Regions from separate parts of the Homo sapiens genome. Here region 1 is linked to region 2. Evidence: promoter capture Hi-C in human tissues and cell types (Jung and others, 2019). All regions are on one chromosome and are shown on one strand. Each heading gives the region's core, a stretch centred on a gene start or on the middle of the fragment in contact. The rest is flanking DNA. Distances are from core to core; before and after follow the strand shown.

Region 1 (7,869 bases), core at 4,331-6,830, 470 kb after region 2:
GCTCTTTCTTTTAGGATCCTTGGAAGACTATTTGAATGATCGATGATTTTTGTCGGCTCTTGTCTCCCGTGTCTTCTAGAGTCAGGCTGCTTCTCACTGACCAAGGCCCAGGGGTGTCAAGCAGCAGGGAGGAAGCTGGGTACAGGGGTTATTAAATTGAAAAGCTGACTTTGAAAAATACAAGTAAGCTCTCCTGAAGTTTCAAGTCTGGCAGCAAGCATGGAGGCAAGAGAGAGAACTCTCCAGGAGGAAAGAAGTTAGCAAGAATGAGAATAAACACAAAAGTAGACATTAATGGAGAGTGAAAGACAATGGAGAAAGTATAAGATGAAACTGAAAGCAAGATGGAAGACAGAACATATACCAAGCAGGAAGAAAGCAAATATTGATCTGAACAGAACTAAAGTTAGCACATTTATTTATTTAATAAATATTCAGTAAGTATCTATTGAGCAGCCACTATGTACAAGCTTTGTAGAGGAGAAACTAAAATAGACCAACAAACATTTTTTGAAAAAGAGAGGAAGGAAGGAATATCAGATAGTGGGAATTAAAATAGGTTGATATAGTTAAGAAGAACAAGGTGGCTCCAGATGTTTAAGCTCAAATTTGAATGACAAGAAGAAGCCAGCCCTGCGGAAGTCATGATAAATAATCAGCAAAATGCGAGTGAGACTGCCACAAGATATCATTTACACCTACCAGACTGACAAGACTTGAAAAGTTAAGTGATACCAAATATTGACAAGGGTAGAGGGCAATAGGAATGCTCCTTCACTGATAATAAGACTGTAAATTGGTATAACCACTTTGAAATCAATTTCATGTTACTTAAAAAAAGGAATATGCTTATATCCTAGAACCCGCAAGTCTATACCTAGTTATATAGAATCAATCTTGCACATGTGTATTAGGAGATATGTTTCAGAAAGTTTAGTTTATTGTAATAGCAAAAAGCTGGGAAACTTCAAATGTCCATCAACAGTAGAACAGATAATTGTATTTTGGTATTTTGATGTAATGAAATACTACACAGCTGTGAAAATGGATGAATTACAGCTTTACACACCAACATGATGAATCTTAGGAACATAAAGCAAAGTGAAAAAGCAAGTGGCAGAAGTATTGTGATTCCACTAACATTCAATCCAAACAACATATTGCTTAGAGATAGAAACAGATGTAGGAAAACTATAATGAAAAGCAAGAGGATCTCAACACAAAATTTAGGCTAGTGTTTATCTCAGACTAAGTAGGAGAGGGGCTGAGATCAGGAAGGAATTCACAGATTTTATGGTAAATGATTGAAATGGTTAGCAGGTCCATGAATGTAAGATATGTTGTCATTCTGTAAACATGATGTGCATTTTATAAATATAGCATTAGTTCATAAATTAATGGATTAATAATTAATCCATTAATTGTAAACATATTTACTATAAATTATTTTAATTATTTTGTCTTTACATATAATAATATAATTAACTTATATTATTATAAATAAGAATATAAATTATTTTATTATTATAATTATGGATCAATAATTCATTAATTAATGTATGGATTAATTATTAACTAGATGTTTAAAAGTGTTTTTAACCAAGACCAAAACAATGCAAGGAGAACATTCTGGGCAGAGGAGACATCAAGTATGAAGGCCATAAAATGGGACAAGCTGGATGCCTCCCAGGATAGGAGAGAGGCCAGCATGGCTGGAACAAAGTAAGCAGGGCAGGGTAGAGAAAAATGAGGTTGGAGTGGCTGAAGTACATAGGGCTATTGATGGTGAGAGAACACAAGTTTCAAGATATCAAGGACTCAAAAATGTCAAATCGCCTGAGTGAGGCGAGAAGAGTGAATGGGCTGGAGGTAATAGGATGGTGCTCAGATGGTGAGAGGTTTGGAGCTGAGGTTTCAGAGGTGATGCAATGATTGGTAATGACAATGTCACGATTTCAGGAGTGTGTGATTTCAGGAGTGCATGGATGAGGTATGTGGAAAAACAAAATACTATAGGCAAGGAGGTTAAGAAAGTAGAAGGCAGGGTGGGGGCAGTCACCCACATGGGTGAAGGGTCTGGACAAGCCTAACAAGTTGCTTGTACAGCAGTCACGTTGGTTGACCACAGAGCCACCTTTCCCACCACCTACCACACCTGCCACCTGATCCAACTCTGACTCCTAGTCTTCAGCTTCCACGAATGAATGGGAGTTCAGATAGGTAAGTAAGCCTGAATGGTAGCATGCATAAACTTCAAGAGGCAGCATTGTGTGAGGGGACAAACACACTGGCCCCAGGTGGGCAGGAGGCTAGGCAGTGGGCCACGTGGTCTCTTCTCATGGGATTTCACATCGGCAGTGAGCTTCCTAAACTCACAAATGGTATGTTTATATTCCTTTTTTGGGAATGGTGACAGAGATGAGCCTCATGCCTGTATCTGATACAGGGCCAAAGCATGATGGCACACACAGGTGTAGAAACCTAGAAGAAGATAAAAGCAGGAGAAGTCAGGCCCAGAAACTCTTAGAATACAAGGGGACCCCTTGAGGGGTCACAGGTCCTGAGAAGGAGGTACCTGTTTAGACTAACCATGCCTGTGATAAGCAGAGGGTGTCTTAGTCTGTTTGGGCTGCTATAATAAATACCATAGATGGGGTGACTTATAAGCAAGAAACATTTATTTCTCACAGTTCTGGAGGCTTGGAAGTCCAAGATCAAGGCACTGGCAGATTCCATGTTGGGTGAGGGCCCATTTCCTGGCTCAAACATGTTGCTTTCTAGCTGTGTCCTCACATGGTGATATAAATGGGCAAGGCAGCTCTCTAGAACTTCCATTAAAAGCACACTCATCTCATAATCACCTACCAATGACTTCACTTCCTGGGAATTGGCTTGTGACCATTGCCTTGTGGGTATAACATATGAATTTTCAGGGGACATAAACATTATATATCCATCAGATATAACCTCTCATTTGTCCAAAAAGGGAACTGGGTCTCAAAGAGGTTAAATAATTTGCCCAAGATCATTCACTTGCCAAAATGGCAGGAGCAGGATTTGAACGTAGGCCCACTGGACTCCAAACATGTGATCTTCACCATTCACTGGCAACAAGAGGAGGAAAATACTTCCACTGAGTTCTAAAGGCTGAGTAAAATTATCCAGAAAAAGGAAGAGAAGGTAAGAGGTGGAGGAAGTGGTACCAGGCAGAGGGAGCCCAGGAATGAGCAGAGCCAAGAATGTGAGAGAGTATGATGTGTCCAGGTACCTGCAAAGGCCACACACAAGACCACTATGTTCCCAACACAACACATGTTCTCACCTCCAAGCAAGTGAGCTGTTCCTTCCTTCCAGAATTCCTCCCTGTCAGCCTTTAGGTCAATAACTTTTCCTTGTTCTTCAAAATTTATTTCAAGTGTTAATTTTTCCAGGTTTTCTCAAAGGCCTAGGAATTGGCTAGGGGCTCTTTGCACTCCAGCAAGGTGTTGGTCTGCATTTTCCCTGCAGGAGAAAGATGAGAGAATTTAAGAAGCTGTGTCTCCCTGTGCATAAAAGGATACAGCCTCACTTCTATGAGGTTCCTTCCAAGAATATAACATGATTGCCACCATGAGGAAACATCAGGAAAACCCAGATTGAAGGATCTACTACAAAATAACTCATCTCTCAGAATCATGAAAGAAAGAAAAATCAAGGATTTGACCCACATTAAAGGAGATTAAAGGGTTATGACAAAAAATGCAATGTGTGATTTTGAATTAGAAGTGGCAAATTTTGAATTAGAACACAAGTGGCAAATTTTGAATAATGTATATATTTTTAAAAACATAATACTATCATATCAATGTTAATTTTCTGATTTTGATCACTGAAGTCTCACTGTGTAAAAGAATATCCTTATCTTTCAGAAATACCCATTGAAATATAAAAATATTTGGAGGTAAAGAAACTTCATTTCTGCATCCTAGACTCACACATCTCAGAAGTACAAATATGCACACACACACATACACACACATAGAGAAGTTCACACGAATGTGAACATTTGTACTACCCAAAGCAATTTAAAGATTCAATGCAATCCCTATCAAAATATCAATGACATTCTTTACAGAAATAGAGAAAAAAATTCTAAAATTTGTATGGAACCACAAAAGACTCTGAATAACCAAAGCAATCCTGAACAAAATGAACAAAGCTGGAGACATCATACTACCAGATTTCAAACTATGCTACTAAGCTGTAGCAACAAAACAACATAGTACTGGTGTAACAACAGACACATAGACCAATGGAATAGAATAAAGAACCTGGAAATCAATCCATGTATCTACAGCCAGTGGATTTTTGACAAAAGTACCAAGAACATTGACTAAGGAAAGGACAGTCTCTTCAACAAATTGTTCTGGGAAAACAGAATATCCACATGCAGAAGAAAAACTAGAATCCTACCTATCACCCTATATAAATATCAACTCAAAATGGATCAAAGACCTAAATGGAAGACCTGAAACTATAAAACTACTAGAATAAACAATGGGGAACCACTTCAGGACATTGATCTGGGAAAAGATTATATGAATAAGATCTCAAAAGCACAGGCAACAAAAGCAAGAATAAACACCAGAGATTATGTTACACTAAAAAGCTTCTGCATAGAAAAGGAAACAATCAACAGAGTGAAGAGACAGTCTACAGAATGGGATATAATATTTGCAAACTATTCATCGACAGGGGTTAATATCCAGAAGATACAAGTAACTCAAACATCTGAACAGCAAAAATTCATCTAATTCAACTAAACAATTCAATTAATAAATGAGTAAATGATCTCAACAGACATTTGCTCAAAAGGCATACAAATGGCCAACAAATATATGAAAAAATGTTTAACATCACTAATTTCCCTGATGAGGGAAATGCATATCAAACTCACAGTGAAGCATCATCTCACCCCAGTTAGGATAACTATTATTAAAAAGACAGAAAATAACAAATGCTGTTGAGGATGAGGTGAAAATGGAACTCATATACACTGTTGGTGGGAGTGTAAACTAGTCCAACCACTGTGGAGAACAGTGTAGAGGTTCCTCAAAAAACTACAAACAGAACCACCATATGATCCAGCAGTCTCACTACTGGGTATTTATTCAAAGGAAAGGAAATCAGTATATTGATGAGACATGTGCACTTCCATGTTTATTACAGCACTTTTCACAACAGCCAAGATATGGAATCAATCAGGTGTACAACAGCAGATAAAGAAAATATGGCACATATACGTAATGGAATACTATTCAGCCATAAAAAGGATGAAATCCTGTCATTTGTGGCAACATAGGTGGAACTGGGGGACATTATATTAAGTGAAATAAGCCAGAAACAGAAAGTTAAATACCACATGTTCTCACTCATGTGTGGAAGCTTAAAATGTTGATCTTACAGAAGTAGAAAGCAGAACAGAGAATACTAATAGCTGGGAGAAGTAGAGATAAGGGAGTGATGGGAAGAGATTTGTTAAAGGATGCAAAACTACAGCTATACAGGAAGAACAAGCTCTAGTGTTCTATACCATTGTAGAATCACTGTAGTTAACAATATTGTTTCACATAGCTAGGATGATATTAAATGTTCCCAACACAAAGAAATAATAAATGTTTGAGATGATGGATATGCTTATTAACCCTGATCTGATCACTATATATTACATGTATCGCATCATTATGTGCCCCCAAAATATATACTATTATGTGTATTTTTTAAATTAAAAACAAATCAGTCAATAATAAAGAATATCAGCAGTACCTTCAAAGGTCTGGAGTACCTCTCCCTGATCCTGTCTCCCACCCTCCATCTGTGACAACCACTATGTTGCATTATGTTCATCATTCACTTGCTTTGAAAAACAAAAACAAAAAACGTTTCTACCACCTATGGGTAGATCTCTAGTGTAAACAACGTAATGCTTGGCTTTGTCTGTGAAATTTATGTTAAGTGATCACTAATGAACGTCTTCCATGATTTGACTCTTTTGCTCAAGTTTGTTTTTAACATTTGTCAAATGTTAAAATTTGTACAATAGAATACAAACCCTAATTAGCCTTATGCTAATTAGCCATATGCTCATTAGGGTTTGTATTAGCTAATGTGGCTAATTACGGTTTGTATTGCATTGCACAAATATGTCACAATTTCCTTAATCATAGAAATGTCAACATTTGGGGAATCTAAGCAAAAGGGTATGGGAATTTTCTGTACTACTTTTGCAACTTTCTCTAATTATGAAATGATTTTAAAGTAAAAAGTTTTTTCTAATTCCTCTTAGAGCTAAGGAAGAAGAGGGGAAGCAGAAGAAAAAGGAGGAAGAGGCCGGGACAGTGGCTCACGCCTATAATCCCAGCACTTTGGGAGGCCAAGGCGGGCGGATCACGAGGTCAGGAGATGAAGACCATCCTGGCTACCATGGTGAAACCCCGTCTCTACAAAAAAAAAAAAAAAAAAAAAAAAAAATTTGCAGGGCGTGGTGGCGGGCGCCTGTAGTCCCAGCTACTCGGGAGGCTGAGGCAGGAGAATGGCGTGAACCCGGGAGGCGGAGCTTGTAGTGAGACCAGATGGGGCCACTGCACTCCAGCCTGGGCGACAGAGCAAGACTCCGTCTCAAAACAAAAAAAAAAAAAAAAAAGAAAAAGGAGGAGGAAGGAAGGAGATAAGAAAGAGGAAGAGAAGGAAAAAGACAAGAAACAGGAGGAGGAGGAAGACAAGAAAGAAGAGGGGGAGGGAGAGGAAGAGGAGGCGGAGAAGGAGGAAGAAAAAGACAAGAAGGGAGGAGGAGGGGAAAGAAGACAAGGAAGAGGAGGAAGAGAAGGAGGGAAAAGGAAGAGAAAAAGGACAATGAAGAGGGGAAGGAGGAGGAGGAGCAGCAGCAGCATCTCCTGTTCTCTTCCCTCTCCACACACACCCCTGCAGGCTCTCTTACAATGAGATGTCTGTACATAAACGCAGTGTTGCCTTTGCCACGTGGTTTCCAATCTGATCACACTTTCAAAATTTTCTCTACAGAATTTAGTTGTGGGGAACTAGAGACCCAAACAACTTGCTTCAAAAAGGGGAATGAGGTATGCACTAGGCACCCTGCTACCTCCTTCAGTTCTTCCAGGGGCATCCAGTCTCCTCTCGGCTAGCAGCCCTTCTGCTTCTTGCAGTGGGCTTATTCTCCTCTATGGCTCCAACAGCTAGGCCAGCTACCTCATGCGCTGGCCTGTGTGAGGCCACCAGGTCACCCTGGGGCCTTTCTGCTCCTTGAAGTTTTACTCTGTGCTCCTGCTGCTCGCCACCCTGTCTTCTGATCCTTTAGATCTTGAAAAGCAAGGATCTGACTGGCCCAACGCATCTTTCACACCAGGTGATGAGATGAATGTCCCAGGCCAGCTTAAGGCCTGGGACCCCTGGGGTCAGGTGTGGTTGGAGAGGAGGGGAAGGGACCCAACAGGCTGCTGAGTTGCAGGGGCTGCAAGTAGGACAGTTCCCCCTTAGCAGAGAAAGGGTGTGGAAGACATTCTCAGGCTCAGCCTGTCAAAGAAAATCTTGAATATTTTGGTCTCCTGAGCTGATCTAGAAGAAAGAACCAGTATCCGTTGTTTTCATCTAAAAAAAAAATCTACATGACCTCTCTCTTCTCTCTCTGGTTTTCTCACACACACACACACAGATACACACATATATACACCTCAGTGCCTTCTTTTCATTTCAGCCTGGCACGCTGTTAACACTTTTGGTGCGTTTTTATTCCCAGAAAGATGGCGTTTCTGTCCTACCTTTCAACTCCACAGAGAACGCATGTGAAGTTGCTTTTCCTGTGACTGTTGGTTT
Region 2 (7,124 bases), core at 3,791-6,290:
CAGTGAAGAGAATTCCACCAAATTTGCTTCGGGGCTGCTGGATAAATGCAGTACAGAGGTAATCGGCTCACCTCATCATAGCCGCCAGCTTCAGCCTCCCCTACAACTCAATCACCGGCACAGGGCTAACCAAATTACTGCTCCAGGCTCTGGGCCTCCCCGTTATGTGACTCAGGAGCCTCATTTGCAATCACCATTAACCAGAAAAGCCGCACGAATGCTCTGAGCCCACAGAGTGGAGTGTCATACAATATTCACAGAACCCATGGGCTGGAAGAGGCTGCAAAGCCTTTAGAATAATGCTCGCACAGTGACCACCACCAGCTTGGGGTCCCCTTCCTTACCCTTTATCCAGCCCCTCTGGCAAAGTGGCTCCAGACTGGACAGAGAAACAAGACAGTGAAATGCCCAGAGGACTGGGAATGGGACTGTCAGAGGTGACTGTGTGGAGAGGAACTGAGTAACCCACATACCAGCTATTAAACAGTCTTGTTGGAAGCCTTTAACTGCTGTAAAGTAGGTATTCACGCAGAACACTCCAAAGGCCACCTCTAAATCTCTAGACAATGCTCAGGTCTTTACCTCTCATTGAGCCACCTGCTGTGCTGTATGAAACAGAGTTAGCAAACCCCGGGGCAGCACGGGATTTCCAAAGATTATCCCATAAATGGCAAAGGTGGGCACACATCTCACATCTCTCCTTTCCTGGTCTCTGCCTCCTCCTCTTCCTTACAGCTCCCACCCTCCCCACTGCCACTCAATACACATTTATCCACACAAGTTGGTCTTAGAATGGAAGGCACGTGGATGCATCAACAAATGGTACTGAAGTGCCCCAGCTTTAGATTTCATATCTGTCGGGCACTTAAAGCCACGATTGTCCCATATGCCCCTCCCACTCCATGTGTTCGTGTGTGTGTGTGTGTGTGTGTGTGTGCACGTGTGTGTTTCTGTTGCACCTCAAGGTTAATGGGGTTGTCTGGGGTGGTGCAGGCACAGGTTGGAGGTATCAGAGAGGGCCTCATGGAAGTTTGCCAGAAAGCATTTTACTATTCTTCTTTCAGAAACTTGTTTATCAAACGCTGTGGTTAAGAGGAGGAAGTCACTCAGCCAGCCTCAGCCTAGCTACTGCCTGCTTGGGAAGTGCTGATGACTGACCCCAGACCGACCCCTAGCACTACAGAGCCTTCTCTGGAAAAACCTGGGCACAGGGACTGACCGCTCCTCCCCTCAAAGGGCACCTCTGCAGATGGGGCAAAAGAAGGCAGGGCTGCCCAGGGCAGGGCGCTGTAGAAGCAGCTGGCGCCAATGGGAGTGGAGCCAGGAGAGAAAGGCTTTCTTGGTTTAGAAACAAGCAAAGGACAGGAGGGAGAGAGGAGTGCTGAATCAGGACCAGGAGCAGGCGCCCTCATGAGCGCCAGCCTGAAGTCTGCTCGTCACATTTCAATAACCTCTGTGAATGAGGAAGCAGAGGGCAGCTGGCCAAGAGAGCTGGCTCCTTGACGGTCACTTTTCATGGGGTGGAAAGAAGTGGGGGCACCATTTGGAACCCTAATCTGTGCAAGTGGTCCTCAGAGACAGAGACAGGCAGAGACTGAGGGAAATGGTCTTGTTTGCACTCCACTGCCTGGCACTCACTGAAAGCTGAGGTCTCTTATGTTCAAGGCTGGCTACTCTAAATGTCCCTTTTAATTAGGGTGAGCTTCAGGGGTGTAATGGCTTTAACCAGAGGATCTGATGTCCCCAGGAAGGCTCTGCCTTCCATTTAGAAGGAAAGGCATCAGCTTGCTCGAAGGAATCCCAGGTTACTGAGTAATCACCATAATAAGATTGAGAATGAAGGTGACCTATAGAAGCATGGTAAATACACAATTTTCTTTGCTTGGTAAGTGAATTTTGATTATAACTCAGCACTTGCCTCAGTTTCTAAAATGCTGTTGGTTCGAATTCTCAGGAAAGCCCAGGAAAGGATAAAACACATAAATGCTTCCACAAGGAAAAACACAAGCTTCCCAGCCCTCTTTGTAGCTACACGCAACCCATAAAATTGAAAGCAAGGTTGCAGTCTCTCTGTCCTTGGTCACCATTTCATATACTGGCCTGTCATACAAAATGTGGGGAAGCACGGCAGATCAATAGCTATTCTGGGTTAATACTGCCACAGGTTTTATTTTTTTCCTTTAACAAAAGAAGGACTTTCCTCCTCATTACATAGATCACAGCTTATTACGTCCAAGGCATATTTCCGTGGTCTGTTTATGGAAATCAGCGTTTAGAAGGAGAATTTTTTTGAGGTTACATGTGCTTTTTATACAAGCAATGGGGCAGTGACACTCCTATGGAGTTAGTCCTTTTAAAGCTCTGCAAATGGCTATTAGCCCTTAGGTTTGAGAAGGGAGTGAAACTTACCTGATGGGCCACCTGGACCCTCCAGGTCTCTCCCTACCTGGCGCCCTCTCCAAATCCTGTGTGCCTAATCCTGAGGGGGCATTAGCAGCACTCAACTTGCTTTGTTTATCTGGGGTGATGTTCCTCTGAGCAAAATCCATAAGTGGTTTTTTTGTGTGCGAAATGAAAAGCCAAATAAGAGTGTAAGTGAAAAAGTGAGCTATGTCCTCTCAAAGCATACGTCATCCATTTTTATGTTGCTGATTATACAATTTCTAAATTGCCTGAAGGTGTTAAGTGACAACTTTTGAATTTGCTATTGGAACTCTACAAATTATATATACAATAACATACATTATTTTTAGAGGAGAGTTATGAAACACCTCTGATACCTCTTTTCAGTCTCAAAAGCTGAGGCGGAGAAAGGGCAGATGTTCATCAGCCCATTTAAAAGGTGAGGAAGGGAAGTCTCAAAGAGGTGGAGGAGGAGTTCAAGTTCACACAGCTGGCCAGAGATGACTCAAGGCCTCCAACCCTGACTCTGAACTCCTGGGTCAGGGCAGCAAGACGACTTGTCAAAATCCAGGCAGACATCATTGAGAAATATACACAAGTGGTTTCCCCTCACTCCACACAGAGACCTTAACACCTCTCTATTCTCCATCATCAGCTGCAGTCAATGAACCATATAAATGCAAACTTCAGAAATGCTAAAGTCTCATAAGCAATTTTTAAAGGTATTAAAATACAAAACAGAAGTAAACAAAATTTCTTGCCCCAGGGAACTAACTAATCCAAAGTGGAAAAAATAATGGAAGTTTGAATGCAGTCTCAAAAGTGGCCATAAAATGGAATTCAGAATTTTATTTTAATGTGCATACTACATACTTGCTTTGCCAAGGATGACTGGTAGTAAATTCTCATTTATAAAACTAAGCTATAAAAGAAAAAAAGAAATAGTGGAATGAGAGGCAAGAGCGCGCAAGCAAGAGCAGGTGTGAACGGTTGCATGCGATGGCATTCGTCACAGCTGGGATATCAGAGAGAGTCAGATCCTAGGTCAGATGCACCATAGGGGTCCCAGGATAGTCCATCGCCCCTCCCCCAGGACTGGCCTTGGCATGTAACCCCAGCAGCTCCAGGCAGCTGTCTTTCGGCGGAACTTCTAGGAGTGGGGGCACCCATCAGCGCTGACCTGCGGGGCTCCAGCTGAGGACAGTCCGGCCGTGGGAGTTTATAAAGTAATGGACAACAGGCAATGCTCTTCCTGCCCAACAGCAGTGGTCAGAGGGACAGATCTATCCTCACAGAGACTGTCAGGCACTGTCGCTACAGACACGGCCCCTCCCCCGGCACTCAGTCCTGCCTGCCTTACACAGGAGTACAGGAAAGGAACTTCCAATGAGTCCATCTTTTATGTTAGGAGAGAGGCAAGGTGCTGAGTTTCCCATCCGGGGAGTTCAGCTGCACCCTCTCCCCAGCCCCCACCTCCCTGACTTCCCCTCCTCCCTACTACCCCTAACCAGTGGCCCATCATTCCTTTCCCAGTCAGTCTTGGCTGTGATGTTAAGCGGCTCTGCCGGACCCCATATTTTGTCTGGTCTCTAAAAGGGCACTGACCTGAGGGTACAAATGCAGAGGCCCCGGGGCAGCTAGGCAGCCGCGAGCAACCCAGCACCCAGCTGCCTAGGGTGCTCCAGGCAGCGGCGGCAGCAGCTAGAAGCTGGTGTCATTATTACACAAGCCAGGCAAATCCTGCTCCAGTACACAGAGCGCATCTAACCAGCAGGAAGGAAATAAGCCAAAATCCTCCCGACACCACACACACACACACACACACACACACACACACACACACACACACGAGTCTGAGGACAAGGACAAACACTTTGCAGAAAGAACCCTCCCCCCACCCCACCGACGTCCAAGTCCCTGTTTCAGGATTCCTCACCCCCCAGTAGCTTCTAAAATCCTCGTGTTTGACCACCTCTCCCAACACATGGGACAGAGAGAATTTGGCTAACTTCAAATCCTGTCTCCTGAGCACTTGCCCACAAATAGTAGGGGGAGTGATGGGGACGCCCCCCTGTTCCCTCCACCACCCTCACTTCTGCCCCCCACGCCACTCTCAGGTTGACAGCGTCGGGGAAAGACATCAGACCATCAATCCAGCTTTTCCTGCCAGCTGGGGAAACAACACTCGGTCACTAACAGCACCCAATCACCTAGAGAGCGAGAGTGAGCCGAGGCAAACACGCCGGGTTCCAGACACCGTCCCAGCCCCCGAGACCCGGGTTTGCAAAGGGCTGCACACGTTCGCCGGAGGGTCGCTGCCGCCTCCGAGAAAGGACTTGAACCTGAGCCCGGTGAAGGTAAAATGACACAGAGACTCACCTTTAGGTTGTGTGTGGGGTTGACGACACAGACAAGTTGCCCGGCAGCGGAGAAAACCCGTTTAGCCTTGTAGTGCTGAAACCGGAGATGAATGAGATCTAATACAGCCCCAAAGCACTGGGTAAAGAAAAGCATCACAACTTTTGGGGGGTTGTTGGTCCGGGAAGGCAGCGGAGGAAGCTGTGAGTCCTTGGGCCCTGGAAGGAGCGCAGCCTCTGAGACACTCCGCTCCAGCCCGGCTTAGCGCGCCTTCATATTCATCATCAAAATAAGACGGTTAGAATCTTGCAGCAGTGAGGCGGCCAATCAAAAGGACAGAAATGTTATCCTTGAGGTGCAGAGACAGCCAATAACAAATGCCTTCCCTACCGAAACTCCCTGATGAATTGAGCCTGGCGGAGAATGTATTATTGAACATTACCATAGATCAGCACATTGCATTTATCTTGTGATTACAGCCAACCATACCTAATGCTGGGGAGATAGGCTGACAAAATTGATTGCTTAATGTGTCTCCATTTATTAATTGACTTAATTTAACATGAGAGCCTTTCTTAATGCCCTGGCAAGAACGTAAAGCGTTTAAGCCGCCAAATAGTACAACACCCCGCTCCAAAGTAGGCAGATGGATAACGCAGATCATGGCTCGACTCACCAGAGCTGCTTGGGAGAAAATAAAATATTACTAGACTCTGAATCCAGATAAGGACTTGGCAGCAGCAAAAATGTGTATCTTTCAATCTTGCGTTCTGACTTTCTGCAATTTGGATTACAGCCCCTTGATAAATCTTACTCTCCACTCTTTATCAAAGAAAAGAATCCCTGACAAATTCATTTGGAGTTGAGGGGTGGAGGGAAGCACATACATATATATTACTATACATATATATATATTTTCTTTTTTTCAAAATACTGTGATTACTGAAGTCTGAAAGTATTAAAGGATAAAAATGCACAGAGTATGCTTCAAAAAATAATGAAATCCCTGATGCATGAATGCACACACACAGAAAAACCTACACTGAGAGGAAAGAGGCTTGTAAATCAGCAAAATAATTACAGATGCAGAGAACCTTTGCTTGTCATTCATTTGCATATTGGTGGGCAGCAAATTGCTAATTAACCACTAGATTGCTGGAGACATTAAAATAGAGATTAAGGATGCACATACCACATCATTTACTTGTTTCTGCAAATGCTAGCAGCACATTTCTGTGCTGGCACAGGCAGAGGGCATTCCAGTCCTCAGACTGCAAACCTGTCCTTGCTCCCCAGAACAGGGCTGGTGGGTGGGCGGGAGGCCGCTGGTTCTTGAAGAAAGATTCCTAAGCAGTACTTGAAGGGTTTTGGGTTTTTCGGGACTAGCTCTGATGGTTTAGTCTTTGCAGCTAAAGCAGGGGAGTTCAGTGTATTGTGTTTTCCCTCTTCCCTGGTTGTTTCTCTCTTGAGAAGTCAGGCCAGATCCAGTGCTGCCTGGAGCAGGATCAGCCCCCACTGTGAATTGTACCCTGTGAGTGTGAGCCCCCTCCCTCATGGCTCTTGTTCTGCTCTGGCTACAATGCTTGGGTTGTAATGTATGCAAAACATATGCACACGTGGAACACCTAGGTCTGTGACCTGGTCAGGCAGTTAAACTAACAACAGAATAACATACGGGATAAAAATAATGCACAAGTTTATTGATGCCAGGACAGAGCCCAGGCTGTTCATTTTAACTTGCATTTAAAACCAAACCAATGTTTTAAGAGACAAGCTGAACACCAATTAAACATGGAAACTTTGCACTTTTAAAATAACGACACTGGCACCAAACTAGAAGATGACAACATTTGAACTGATTAGAACCTCATCAATGTGATATTTTTATAGGACCTGAGTCCCTGGAGCCACTTGTTACATGGCATATAATAAAGGTTGCTGGCCCACAAAACCAGAATCTGCTTTCTAAAGTTTGAATTGTCCAGAAAATAAGCTTTCAGCAGTTCATTGGGAAAACATTTAATGTCCTTTCATTGGCTTACTTGTTTTAAAAACTAAAAGTGTGCAGATACTCTCATAGATTCCTTAAAGATATATTCATAATTTAGAAAGGTTCAAATTATTTTTACATCTTTGGCTCTAGTGGAACGATTGTGTTGATTTTTTGTTCTGTTTTGTTTCATTTTTCTTTACTTTTTAAAGATGTATTGTTTCCGTCATCCTGCTAGAAGTAAGTTCCATGAGAATGGGGATTTCTGCTGTTTTTTTTTTTTTTTTGGAAAGGTATTTTTAAAATAAAATGATTGTACACAAAATAAGGATGCCAGCAAATAGGTCAAAGATCTATAACTTTGTGTTGATAA

The links. Contacts are between HindIII fragments. The study calls those that stand out against the background at their distance.
Region 1: a contact is called between a fragment that was not itself captured here and the fragment with the promoter of SIAH3 in region 2, in 1 of the 25 tissues and cell types used here (dorsolateral prefrontal cortex).

The regions. Positions count from the first base shown.
Region 1 is chr13:46,313,723-46,321,591 of GRCh38, forward strand. LOC105370194 (a long non-coding RNA gene) reads right to left here. Exons shown (of 3, transcript XR_941946.4): 2 at 3,323-3,501. Among named protein-coding and RNA genes, the nearest start is that of LINC00563, 20 kb to the left of the region's middle. RefSeq lists enhancers at 5,668-6,216, 7,274-7,773. The HindIII fragment of the contact is 6,042 bases long and covers 2,560-7,869 here.
Region 2 is chr13:45,846,713-45,853,836 of GRCh38, forward strand. It overlaps SIAH3 (siah E3 ubiquitin protein ligase family member 3), which reads right to left and starts at 5,041. Exons shown (of 2, transcript NM_198849.3): 1 at 4,783-5,041. The coding sequence starts at 4,917. RefSeq lists enhancers at 297-987, 3,613-4,150. The HindIII fragment of the contact is 6,525 bases long and covers 977-7,124 here.